4 separate regions of the Homo sapiens genome follow, and all the other regions are linked to region 2. Evidence: promoter capture Hi-C in 16 types of primary human blood cells and fetal thymus (Javierre and others, 2016). All regions are on one chromosome and are shown on one strand. The core of a region is centred on a gene start or on the middle of the fragment in contact, and the rest is flanking DNA. Distances in the headings are between cores, read along the strand shown.

The links. The method cuts DNA at HindIII sites, captures the fragments that hold promoters and counts their contacts. A CHiCAGO score of 5 or more calls a contact.
Region 1: a contact is called between a fragment that was not itself captured here and the fragment with the promoter of DPP10-AS1 in region 2, in 1 of 17 cell types (endothelial precursors). The highest score is 5.4, in endothelial precursors.
Region 3: a contact is called between a fragment that was not itself captured here and the fragment with the promoter of DPP10-AS1 in region 2, in 3 of 17 cell types (M2 macrophages, endothelial precursors and M0 macrophages). The highest score is 9.4, in M2 macrophages.
Region 4: a contact is called between a fragment that was not itself captured here and the fragment with the promoter of DPP10-AS1 in region 2, in 2 of 17 cell types (endothelial precursors and M0 macrophages). The highest score is 11.9, in endothelial precursors.

What each region holds. Positions count from the first base shown.
Region 1 is chr2:117,792,853-117,795,810 of GRCh38, forward strand. No RefSeq gene overlaps it. Among named protein-coding and RNA genes, the nearest start is that of DDX18, 20 kb to the right of the region's middle. The HindIII fragment of the contact is 7,003 bases long and covers 1-2,958 here.
Region 2 is chr2:115,160,013-115,163,011 of GRCh38, forward strand. DPP10-AS1 (DPP10 antisense RNA 1) reads right to left here and starts at 1,331. Exons shown (of 3, transcript NR_036580.1): 1 at 1,092-1,331. All of the region lies in intron 1 of DPP10 (dipeptidyl peptidase like 10), which reads left to right. The HindIII fragment of the contact is 8,601 bases long and covers 1-2,999 here.
Region 3 is chr2:117,774,382-117,777,622 of GRCh38, forward strand. No RefSeq gene overlaps it. Among named protein-coding and RNA genes, the nearest start is that of DDX18, 39 kb to the right of the region's middle. The HindIII fragment of the contact is 7,818 bases long and covers 1-3,241 here.
Region 4 is chr2:117,757,547-117,760,954 of GRCh38, forward strand. LOC124907878 (a long non-coding RNA gene) reads right to left here and starts at 3,047. Exons shown (of 2, transcript XR_007087210.1): 1 at 2,827-3,047; 2 at 1-228. The HindIII fragment of the contact is 568 bases long and covers 1,304-1,871 here.

The sequences.
Region 1 (2,958 bases), core at 416-2,915, 2.6 Mb after region 2:
TTGAAAATGTTGGCATTAGGTAACAGGTCCAAGAGCAAACAGACGAGATTGAAGAAGTAGGATACAGACATCCTTATAAAATTAAAAATAGGCAGATAATAAGTTATTTAAATGAAAAGCAAGACAATTAATGTGTCTGAGAAAGACAAAAATCTACATGTCTCTGTAAGGATAATATTTGCGTGGATACAATGAAGAGGGCATGAATAATTAATAATTAAAAATAGTAACATAACTCTATCAAGAAGGATTAAGATGAAGACTTATTAAAGGGACGAAAAGTGTCCTATAATTATATAAAGTCAAAAAAATCTAGATATTTAAGATACAGCAATAAATGAACTACTTAGAAATATGATATTTACTTAGAATTTAAAAGAAAGAGCAGAAAGTTAAAGCAAGTTTCCACTGTGATGAAGACTGGAGTGAGAGATTTATTTTTTCCCTTGTAAATGTCACAGTACTTTTTATTTTTATTTTTACAAGTATTATCTTGATAACTTTTTTTTTGTTTTTGAGATAGGGTCTCACTCTGTCACCCAGGTTGGAGTGCAGTGTGTGATCATAGCTCATTGCAGCCTCAACATCCTGGGCTCAAGCAATCCTCCCGCCTCAGCCTCCCAAGTAGCTGAGATTACAGTCGCTCACCACAACACCAGGCTAATTTTTTTTTTTTTTTTTTTTTTTTTTTTTTGGTAGAGACAGGGATTTGCCATGTTGCCCAGACTTGTCTCGAATTCTGGACTCAAGAGATCTGCCTACCTCGGCCTCCTAAAACGCTGAGATTACAGGCATGAGCCATTGAACCTGACCTCTTGATAACTTTTTAATATTTACATTTCTAAGGAGATCTCTAATCAAGCACTATGAGCCACGTGAACTTTTAAATCACGTATTTATTCAATTCTGAGCCCTGTTAAAAGTATATGATTTGCTGGGCGTGGTGGCTCACGCCTGTAACCCCAGCACTTTGGGAGGCAGAGGCGGGTGCATCACCTGAGGTCAGGAGTTTGAGATGAGCCTGGCCAACATCGTGAAACCCCATCTCTACTAAAAATACAAACGTTAGCCAGGCGTGGTGGCAGGTGCCTGTAATCCCAGCTACTTGGGAGGCTGAGGCAGGAGAATCACTTGAACCCGGGAGACAGAGGTTGCACTGAGCCGAGATCATGCCATTGCACTCTAGCCTGGCAACAGAGCGAGACTCTGCCTAAAAAAAACAAACAAATAAACAAGCAAAAACAAATTATATGATTTAATATATTGTTCTAGTCACAAAAATCCAAATTCTCAAGACTGCACATACTGTACAGAACTTGAGCGATGATGGATGTATTTTCTCAGACTTTTGTTTAGGAGCAGACTGTGGACTAGAAATTTTAAACCCAGAGCCATAATGACTTAATGGCAAACTACATATTTCTAGGTGACTTCTTGGCCATAAGTTACTTTAGGTACTGAAAAGGGTGAGCTAGGTCTGCAGGTTTAGTCCATAGTTCTGTGTGTATTTGAGAGAGAGAAAGGGAGAGAATCCCTTACCATGATTCCTTAAAACATTTCTTTTTGGTAGCTGAATAGGTATAAATAATTGAGGTGCACATTGTTGATGGAAAAGAGATTGTAATCCTTTTTTTGAGAACCTTCATATTAAAAAAAAAAACAGAACAGCTTATCATAGAAAAGTCCTCTACCCTAGGGAAAATTATGATTTTAAAGATTATGAACCTGTCAGTCTATAAGTTATGAGCTAGAGGCAGCATCTGAAGTCTTGATTAATCTGCTCATTATTCAGTTGACCCTACTTGCTAGCCTTGAAAAATCAGTAGTGCTAATGTTACTTCAAGTAGAAAAACATGGGAGTCACTTCTCAACTGCAAGAGTCTGTGAAGTTTTCTTAATGGTGAAATCTGTACAGAAGTGATCTACTAAAATGGGTCCTTGGTACTTTATGGCTTAAAGTCTGTGCTTCCAAAAGGCTCTATTCTTCTCCCGCCCCTTGGAGAATTTCAAGCCAAGGTTTCTGAGCTGTACTGTGTGACTCACATGTCTGTATGAAAGGAGGCATGCCTATAGCCAAGAATCTAAGCAGGACTGAGAGCATTTTCATTCATTCATTCATTTTCTATTGAATCTCAACCATGTGTCAGCCACCATACTGCATGCTAGAAAAACAAAACAAATATAATAAGATATGTTCCCTGTGGCACCACGAGCCCAGAACCCACAAAGCACATCTTTGACGAGCTCTCCAGCTACTTTCAGCCTGCTTAAGGCTTTCTTTACAAACACAAAACAGCAAACCAGAGAAACACCTTAATGATACCTGCCAATGTTTATTGAGCTATTTTCTGTATACTAGGATTGTTCTAAGCACATGACACATATTGACTCATTTCACTTTCTCAGTGATCCAATGAGGTAGTTACTAACATCATCCCCATTTTATAGATAAGAAAATGAAGCACGAAAATTTAAGTAACTTGTCCCAAGTTTTTATAGCCTGGCTCCAGGTCTTGCAGGTATAATTATTCCTTTCACACAGGTGTAAGGCAAACCAAATGAAAAGGGAAAAAAGAATAAAGAGGCATTCTTCTTTCATAGTCACAGAGGTAAGTGACTATGTGAGTGAGTTTAACCCAAGATAAAGGGAATCAATAATGGCCAGTTACCTGGACATGCTGTCAGCTAATACCACCACATGCATAGTTTAGGCCTTCCTTTGCCTCCACCTTTATCCTTACTCTAGGAAGTCTTATGCATACGAATTCACAGACAGCTATTTGCAAAAAACAAGCCTATGGGAATGAAGCACTAAATATAATACTTTTTAATATTAGGTTGAGCTGAGAAGACAACAAAAATAGAAAATAACTAATGATGTACACTTTTTAGTACCATTTGCTCCATTTCAATGCCTTATCTAAGGAACCTAGAGGGAGATGAACCACTACAGGGGTT
Region 2 (2,999 bases), core at 81-2,580:
AAATATAAAAATGCGAACATTTTCTGAATAATGCAGATGCCCTCCCTCCAAAAGAATTACATGTGAGGGAATATCTATATTGTCATAATTACTGGATAAGCTGCCCAATAGCTATTACACTAATGTTTCATTAAAAATATATATTTGCTTTATGCTTTTGCAACTTGCAAAGTTATTCCTAGCAAAAAGTTATTTCTCCTGAAACAGAATAAATAGGTCTTTCACAATATGCACTGGAATACATATTTTTGAAAAACAAGATCTCCACTCACCTCTAATTCTATCTTTCTGCTGGTGATTACTGATATATTTATTTTAAAATACATACTTTATAGGAAGTATCGTTACAATTAATATTTAGGACAACATTATAATTCGTGTTTTAGAAACTACTAAGGCAAGAGGACAGCTCCTACCATTCTACAAAAGTCTTTCAGTTAAGAAGTGACTAATTAATGGACTGAGTGGCTCAGAGCAGGGAGCCAGTCCTTAGCCAATAAAGCCCAACTCACTGCCACCCCACTGCCCCATATTCTCTGTCCTCTCTGCTGGAACTGTCTTGTGCTGAATACATGAACACCTAAATATTCAACTCACTCCTGCCATTTCTCCGGTAAGCAATCTTCCACAACCTGTGCCTGAGACTTGGAGGCTGTTTGTGGTCCACAGGCTTTAGGCGCCCTAGGGAAAGCCACGTGCACTAGTGCATCTGGATGAACTGTGGACTTTGTCTATCCGCGGTAATTCAACTTCCTAAGAGCTACATTGACTCATTGATTTGTATCCAGGCTCCGGGCTCCCAATTCCCACACAACGTAAGCTCCCTGCAGCCAGGGGATTTGGTAGGTTTGCCGTGTTGTTTAGTTTCTCTCCCCTGCGACCCTCTCTCTGAGCCTCACAGTGTGTTTGGCACGTGGTAGGTGCTCGGTAAACCTACTTTGAATGGGAGAGGGTTGTGTTGAAGAAAGGAAAGGCTGGGAGGACTTAAGATTTGAAGGTTTTCCTACACGTGTCCAGGAAGAAAGAAAAAGAAAAAAGAAATGAGTATCAGAGTCTTATCATCATTACAGTTCTTATGGTTTTTAACCGACCTTTAGGAGTTCCACCGACGTGACCCAAGCAGCTGGTAGGAGAATCTGGGCTGGATTCGGAAGGCGCAGCTACAGGACGCCCGCTGCCCCGGATCGGAAGGCGCAGCACCTCAGGCCACAATCTCAGACACGCCCTCGGGTCCCGACAGGTGTTGCCCGCCTCCCACGGGGCTCCGGGACCCCGGTCCCCGGGCTGCCCCCTGCCTTCTGGGGCGCTGGAGCGCGCGCAGTGGCGGAGCTGGAGCCACCCAGTGCTTCGCACGGGCGCGCTCCGCTTCTCCGGGTTTTAGCGGAAGCCTGCGGGGGGCGGGGTAACCGCGGAAGCCGGCGGCCGTGGGCGCGCGGGTTGGGGGCTCTCGCGCCGCTCCGGGCTCTCCCCCCCCCCGGCTGCGGTTGCCGAAGAGAGGCCGGAGCGCGGCGCCCGGCTGCTCCACCTGGCGCGCTGAGCACCGCGCGGGGAGCCCCCGGGGGCGGGCGGTGGGGGGCGCGGACTGCGGGAAGAAGGCACGAGGCGTCGCCGCAGCTCGGTCAGGGGCCGGGGCCCCGCCGCTCGCCGCTGCACTAACTTGCCGCTTGGTCTCGCCTCGCCGCCGCGGCTCGCTGCGCTTTGGGTGGCGGGGGGCGGGGAGAGCGGGGAGTCAGAGGGTCTGCGGTGGCCGAGGGAGGGACCCTACGACGGGGAGCCCGCCCGGTGCCGCTCTTCTTCCCCTCCCCGCCCCTCCGCTCCCCCCACCCCGTCCCTTCCGCCGATTCCGGGAGCGACGGGCGCCCGTGACCTGCGAACGCTGCCAAGTGACGGTCCCCGAGTCTGAAGCGCCCGCGAGGAAGCGAGCGCCAGCGCGGGCCGCCGGCGATGACGGCCGCGAAGCAGGAGCCGCAGCCCACCCCGGGGGCCAGGGCGAGCCAGGCGCAGCCGGCGGACCAGGTGAGAGTCGGCAGCCGCGGCCAGGCCCTCCCGGGAGGGGTGGCTCCAGTGCGCGCTCCGCCCGCCTCCCGCTTCCCAGGCTGGGCTCCCGCGCCTCCCTCTTCTCACCCTCCCCCGCCCCGCCCCAGTTCCAGGCTCTCCTGCTTCTCCACGGACTCTGCGGGAAGTTAGAGCCTCTGCGTGCGCTCCGGGGCCCGGCGAGAGGATGCGCAAGGTGGAGAGCCGCGGGGAAGGGGGCAGAGAGGTAAAGGCTGAAGGTGCCCCGGGGAACCCCGGCGGGCGGCCCACCGAGGGAGGGAGAGGCGGCCGGGACCAAGGAATGGGGCCTCTTGGTTCCCCATTAACGCACGCTGAAGAAATCTGCTGCGCTCCTGACGGCCGCTCACCGGGTTCGAGCCCCGTCCTCCTATAGCCGGGGCGCTCGCTGGCCAAAGCGACCCGAGCAGGCGAATGACCTTTAGGCGGACGGGGTTTTCCCTCTGCTTTCTTGTTTCTTTTGAGGAGACGGGTGTGTGTTTGTGAGGTGGGGATGGGGGAAGAGTGTCCCAGACATCCGTAGTCTGCTGAGCGGAACGGAGCTTGGGGAGCGGCGAGGCATTAACGATTAAGTGGAGCCGGGAAGGCGCTGGCTTTGGTGATGTGTTGGGTTTGGATGTGTCGCGTCTGCACAGATGAGGTGCCCTGCGTGGGCTGAGGGTTATTCCTGTCTCTTTCCCGTCCGTCTACACCCGCCAACCCCTTTTTGTTTTGGTCTTTAGAAATCTGTAGCATAACCGTACCGTCGTGGATCCCCATCTCGTCTCTGTCCCTGATCTGGGGTGATTTGGGACTTCGGTGTCGCTCTTTTTCCAAAGTTGGAGGGTCGGGAGCGCCGAGACACCCTGGCGAGGAGGAGGAGGAGGAGGAGGGAGGCTGCGCTGAGCCGGGTGCAGGTGCGCTCACGTTTGCATCAATTAGGAACTCCGGGCAGAGAGAGCTGCACT
Region 3 (3,241 bases), core at 514-3,013, 2.6 Mb after region 2:
CTGACGTGGACCAGTGAGGTGGTGGGAAGGCTTTGTCCTAGTTGTGGTTGGCTGGAAACTACCTGAAGGAAGAGGAATGGGTCTGAGGGGTCCCGACGGGGAGGAGAAGTGGGAACAGTCACCATGGTCACTTTCCCTCTCTGCCCCAGGTACACTTGATCTCAACATGCCCTTCTCTCCTGGGGAGACTGTGTCAATTTGATCAGCAGGCCAAAGAAGAGGCTGATAGTTTCTATCACTTGGTGTGCCAGCAGCTGCCAACAGCAGAGTCCCCAGAGTGTAGGTGTTGACCAGCCAGACCCCAGGCAGCAGTGAGGCATGGTTCACAGTGCTAGCCCAGTCCACTGGTGCACTCCATAATTGACTGTTGCTCATAGTTTGCTGACCTCTGATGTAGAATAAGGGGAACTCTTTTAAACTGTAGGTAGGAGTAAAGTTAGTATACTGCTTTGGAAAACCACTGGTATTGTCTCCTAAAATACAAGCACAAAGCATACTCTGCAATTCCTAAGTGTACATCCAACAAAAATGCATGCACATGTGCATGCAGAGACATGTACGAAAATGTTTATAAGAGCATTAGTCATAAAAGCCAAAATGTGAAATCAATTATCAAATGTCCACCAGCATTAGAACTGGAAAATAAATGTTGAACTGTTCACATAACACAATTCTTTACAGCAATGAAAATGAAAAAAAAAGTTGCCACTTCATGTGACAGAAATGAATCTGATGAAGAGAATGTTGAGAAAAAAATACATTCCATATGACTTCATTAATGTATGTGTGTAAGGTATGTATGTTTAGCTGATAAAACTACAAAGAAAAGCAAAGAATATATTACCATGAAAGATAGTATAGGAGCAAGAGAGTAGTGATGGTGCTTGGAAGGGAAGATGAGGATGCTTCTGCAATGTTGATAATATTGTATTTCCAGTCCTAGATGGTAGAAACAGTAGGGTTTGCATTGTCATAAATCAGGGATTGGCAAACAATATGGCCCAAACCTAATCTCCCACCGATTATTGTGAACAAAACTTTATTAAACCACAGCCCATGTTAGTTTACACATTGTCTGTATCTGTCTTTTTATTAACAATAGGAGACTTGAATAGTCCTAACAGACACCATATAGCCCATGAATTCTAATATATTTACCATCCAGCCTTATACACAAAAATATGCCAACTCCTGTAACAAATCATTGAGCTGTACATTTCTATTTTGTATACTTTTCCTTATACATGTCATATTTTACAATTTTAACTATACATATTTAGTTATGTAGTTATAGATGTAACTACATTCCATGTTTAGCTCTGAATCATGTTTGACAATAGACATTCAATGCATAAAACAACAATCAAATCAATTAGCTTCAAGAAAACAAAACCACTTTTCTTTAAATATATTCATTATGCAGACAAAATAAACTGTACTTGCCTCTAGAACTTATTTTATTCTCAATTTCCATATCTGCAAGAGAATGAATCATCATCTTTCATTCCAAATACTTGTTTGATGTATTGCTTAAAGCTGTTTTATAGATTGCAGCATGACACTTGAAGGCACTTGATACAAGTGTCTGGCCACATGTTGTCAAGTCTCTATTTGAGTTTTTCTTAGAAGATTGAACTCACATATCTATACACTCAACAAAGGCACTATATTCAGTCATACTTTATTTATTCAGTGATGTGGAGCAAGGCAACTTTTGAACAGTTTGAGTTTCTCTCTCTGCATTTCATAATTCATCCATTTAACAAAGATTTACTTACAGTCTACTATGCCAAAACTTATATTTTCAGCATTTTAATGCAAGTGTTTCTGAAATATGTTACATCGTCCTCTGCCTTTTACACAGAGTTTGACCATTTAATCTTTTATGACTCAGCCTCATTACAGAATCAAACTATACACCAAAATGCGATTTTTAAAATTCTGTTTTAACTGAGAAGTCTTTTCTAGAATTCCAACCAACAAAATAGATACAAAGAAGAGTTGAAGAGAGAGATGGGTGTGCAACAGAGTCCCACCCACTAGGAATTCCTGAGACGACATAGAACCATAAGATTCCAGGAATAGCCATTGGAAACCACTGATCATTTAGTAACACTCTCAAGAACTGCTGAGAGATAAAGGCTGCTCCCGTACTCAACAATCCTAAATTTTGTTCTGAAATTGCTGTCTTTTTTTTTAAGTGTGTTTTATAGTGTCCTTCTTAATGTCAACAATCGCTTCTTGCTGAATCAGTGTAGATCCCTGTATCTGTGCTCTGTCCACCCACTAACCCTCAACATCCGTGGTTTCTGTAGATTGGGAAAATAAAGTCCCCAGGCTTTCTAGAAGTGTGGGAAAATTAAAAGTCCACACACTAACAGGCCTCGAGAGACTTTCTCAAGTAAAGGACATGGGCTTTACATTCTGGACCTTGAATGATCTCTCTTGATGGTCAAACACCTATTTTTCTGTCTAATTTCCAGATTACCAACAGGATATTAGAAGCTAGGTGACACTTATATAAGTAAGGACATTTTCTATCATCAAGACGAAAATGGATTTGCATTGCAGATGGTGATTTTAATTTCTCAAGTGAGAAAACGTTTCTAGAATCTCTTAGTCGTATCTACTAGTAACTTGTTGCTATTATTATCATTATTATGATTTAGAGACAGAATCTCACTGTCTCCAGGATGGAGTGCAGTGACGCAATCACAGTTCACTGCAGCTTCGCACTCAACTTTAAGTGATCCTCCTGCCACAGACTCGCAAGTAGCTGGAACTACAAGCATGGGCCACCATACCTGGAAAAATCTTTGCTCTTCACCCAACAGTCTTAGAGTTTGTCAAATAAAAGAAGTTCTCTCTAGAAACAGACTGTTAAAGCCGGGCGAGATGGCTCCAGTCTGTAATCCCAGCACTTTGGAAGGCCAAGGGGGGTGGATTATCTGAGGTCAGGAGCTCGACACCAGCCTTGCCAACATGGTGAAACCCTGTCTCTACTAAATATACAAAAATTAGCCAGGCGTGGTGGTGGGTGCCTGTAATCCCAGCTACTGGGGAGGCTGAGGCAGGAGAATCACTTGAACCCGGGAGGCGGAGGTTGCCATGAGCCAAGATCAGACCACTGCACTCCAGCCTGGGTGGCAGAGCAAGACTCCATCTCAAAAAAAGAAAAAAAAAAGAAATAGAAACAGACGGTTAAATCCATTCTAATAAGATATGTTTGACCCTGGCACTT
Region 4 (3,408 bases), core at 338-2,837, 2.6 Mb after region 2:
CTTGTAATACTTCTCAAAAACACAATTTAGCGGAAAAAAATTATTTTCAAAGGTGCATGAAATCTATCCTTTTCATCCTCCCATTTAGATACTCTAAAGTTCACTCCTGAATTAAGCTAGACCTACAGAAATTCGTGAAGTAAAACAGTCTTTTGACCTTTTCTCTCTTCTTCACTCTTCCTGTTGAAAGATTTTCACTGGCATGGGCTATGATGTGATGTTATCAGCCTGCATTGGGAAACACAAAAGAAACACCAATGTAACCCCAGGTGTCTGCAATGAGAAGGTTGAAGGTGCTGTTACTTTACACAGTGGGCTCATTCATGAGAGTCCCGAAAAGAATGTTGTTCCTGCCACAGTATCAAAATGAATTGTGCATCTCCTTAAAATGGGCTTGTTTTTAATCTCATGAACCCTAAATAGTACAACCAAACAAATGTCTCTTTTCATTTAGTTTCTAGAATACTTACAGAACAATTTGAGGCCCACCTGTTAAAAAGAATGACAGGCTGTATGCATGGTCTGCATTGCTGTTTTGGCTTCATTCCTGGCTATTAAAAAAATAGCTCCACCAGGCCAGGCACAGTGGCACATGCCTGTAATCCCAGCACTTTGGAAGGCCAAGGCAGGGTAGATCACCTGAGGTCAAGAGTTGGAGACCAGCTTGGCCAATATGGTGAAACCCCATCTCTACTAAAAAAAAAATAAGAATACAAAAAGTAGCCGGGCATGGTGGCAGGCACCTGTAATCCCAGCTACTCAGGAGTCTGAGGCAGAAGAATCTCTTGAACCCAGGAGGCAGAAGTTGCAGTGAGCCGAGATTGCGCCACTGCACTCCAGCCTGGGTGACAGAGCGAGACTCTGTCTCAAAAAAAAAAAAAAAAAAAAAAGAGAAAGAAAGAAAGAAAAAAAAGGCTGGGTGTGGTGGCTCACGCTTGTAATCCCAGCACTTTGGGAGGCCAAGGCAGGTGGATCACCTGAGGTCAGGAGTTCAAGACCAGCCTGGCCAAAATGGTGAAACCCTGTCTCTACTAAAAATACAAAAATTAGCTGGGCATGGTGGGAGGCACCTGTAATCCCAGCTACTTGGGAGGCTGAGGCAGGAGAATCGCTTGAACCCAGGAGACAGAGGTTGAAGTGGGCCAAGATCATGCCATTGCACTCGAGCCTGGGTGACAAGAGTGAAACTCCATCTCAAAAAAAAAAAAAAAAAAAACTCCACCAGTAATTTTTCTTCTTGTTTCCCACCTACTTCTATTTATGTTGATTTGAAAAACTGAATGCATCCTTAGAAGTGCTTTAAAGCTTTTCTGAACAAGGGAGGGCACAAACTTTTTTAGGCAAATTAATATGAAAGTCAATCTTACCAAACTTTCAAAGGCATTTTTTGGTTCTCCTCTCCAAAACCTTAGTGAGTAATGCCAATAATATGTTCTGAGAATTTTCCCCCCAAATAGCAAGTAACAAATACTTCATCCCACAGTGGCTCAAAGATCTATGGGCGAGGCTTGTTGAACAACCATGCAGGACAGCTACTGGCAGGAAGAAACGTGGTGCCTGCTTATTGGCCTAGAACTGGAAGGATGCGCACCAAAGGCAAATATTGTGTATTTAACACTTTTACCAAAGACAAGCCCCAGCACAGTAATGAGTGTGAAAGGTGTGAAAAACTTCAAAAGTTTGACCACAGAAATGTTGGTGGCACAGAATGTCTTACCAGGCCCAGGCTAACTGCATGGGACACCCTTTACAATCCTGCAATTTGGAACAACTCTTTAGTCAACAACCTTGAGCCACCAGCTAGCTTGATTGGATCATGCACTTATCACCAGTACGGATTGGGAAGCCTTGAGTTTACCCAGAATGAAGAAAGCTTAAGGTTGAAAATGGAAGCTAAGAGTTGATTTCACATCAGCTGCTATAAAGACAAGCACAGCCTGTAAATTTTTTAAAGGCTAAAACTTTAAATTCTCTAGGCTGAATATTGGAGGGAGGGAGAGGATATGCAACAGATGTAATTCAATTCTTGTGTTATGTGTTACTAAAATGACATTGCCTGGTATTAAAAAGTTCTTATAAAATAAAAACTAAAAAAATCCTCACAAACAGCATTGGAAATAAAATCCAAGTCTTGAAAAATTCAAATTGCACCTTCCATCCCAACCTCATTCCAAATCAAAATATGTATCTCTTTTATTCATAAACTGATACATATACCTATGAATAAAAGCCCAAAGCTGGGCATATTGAAATGAGTTATCTAGCCTCCGAAAGCAAATAAGATCATTTCCTTTCACATCTCTTCCCTCTCAGCAATTATCTGGCTGAATTTTAACCTGACTCTGATCAGGAAGGGAACATCTATTTGCCCTGGCTGAATACTGCAGCAATCCATATGCATGTTTTCTTGCTGTCTAAAATCCTATCTCTGAATACGATTTCTTATTAATTTCCTCAAGCAGATTTCCACTATTAGATGTGCTGGCTGTGCATCACAAATGAGCTACGTTTTAGCGGTTGCTGGTCATTACGTAAGTAAAGAGGGGAACATCTCCTTCTGTGTGACTCAATGATTTAATAATTATTAATGAGACATTATGCCTTTGTACATTTCTGACAGATTATTAAGTGCACTATAAATGTTTAACATCACTCTCTGAGGTCCGAAAATGTGATGCCAAATGTGTCCTCCAGCTTCACACAATCAGAAAAGACAAATTAGATTACAGCAATATGGCAGCTTTATTGATTTTTTATAATATTTACAAACTGCAGGTAAAATGTAATATGAGAAAAAGCATGTGTGATGATGGCAGGTCCATTTACCTGAAAGTTTTTCCTCTATCATCATTTGGAAGCAGTTCATCTTGTAGGCAGTGGTGTTGGAACAACTCTTTAGTCCACTTCTTGGGCTGTGTTTCCTTCCAGCAAGCTCCAGAGGGCAGGAGGAGCCTCGTTCACAGCCTCAGACTTATGCTCCATTTTTTTTTTAATCCTTGGACACAGGAACTTTGGCCCAGAGGCTTGTTTGCATGTCAGAATCACCTAGAAAAAAAATATAAAATACAGTCTCTCAGGCTGCCCTCTAGCCCAACCAAACCAGAATCTCTCGAGGTGGTCACAAGGCACTGGTATTTTGTCTTTAACTCCAAAATACTTCTAAAATACAACCAGGGTTGAGAACCTCTGATTTATACCATCTGCTGTGTGGGATTTAAAACATGGCCCCAAAATTCTTTGGCATGTCTGTCATTAGGAGGTAGGGTCGAGGGTCCCTCCCCTAGAATCAGGGCTCCTTGATGACTTGACCAATAGATAAAGGCAAAAGAAATGCTGTGCCAGTGTCCAGGCCCAGACCTCAACAACTGGCAGCTTTCACTTCCTTGCTGTTGAGACCTTACTCTTGGA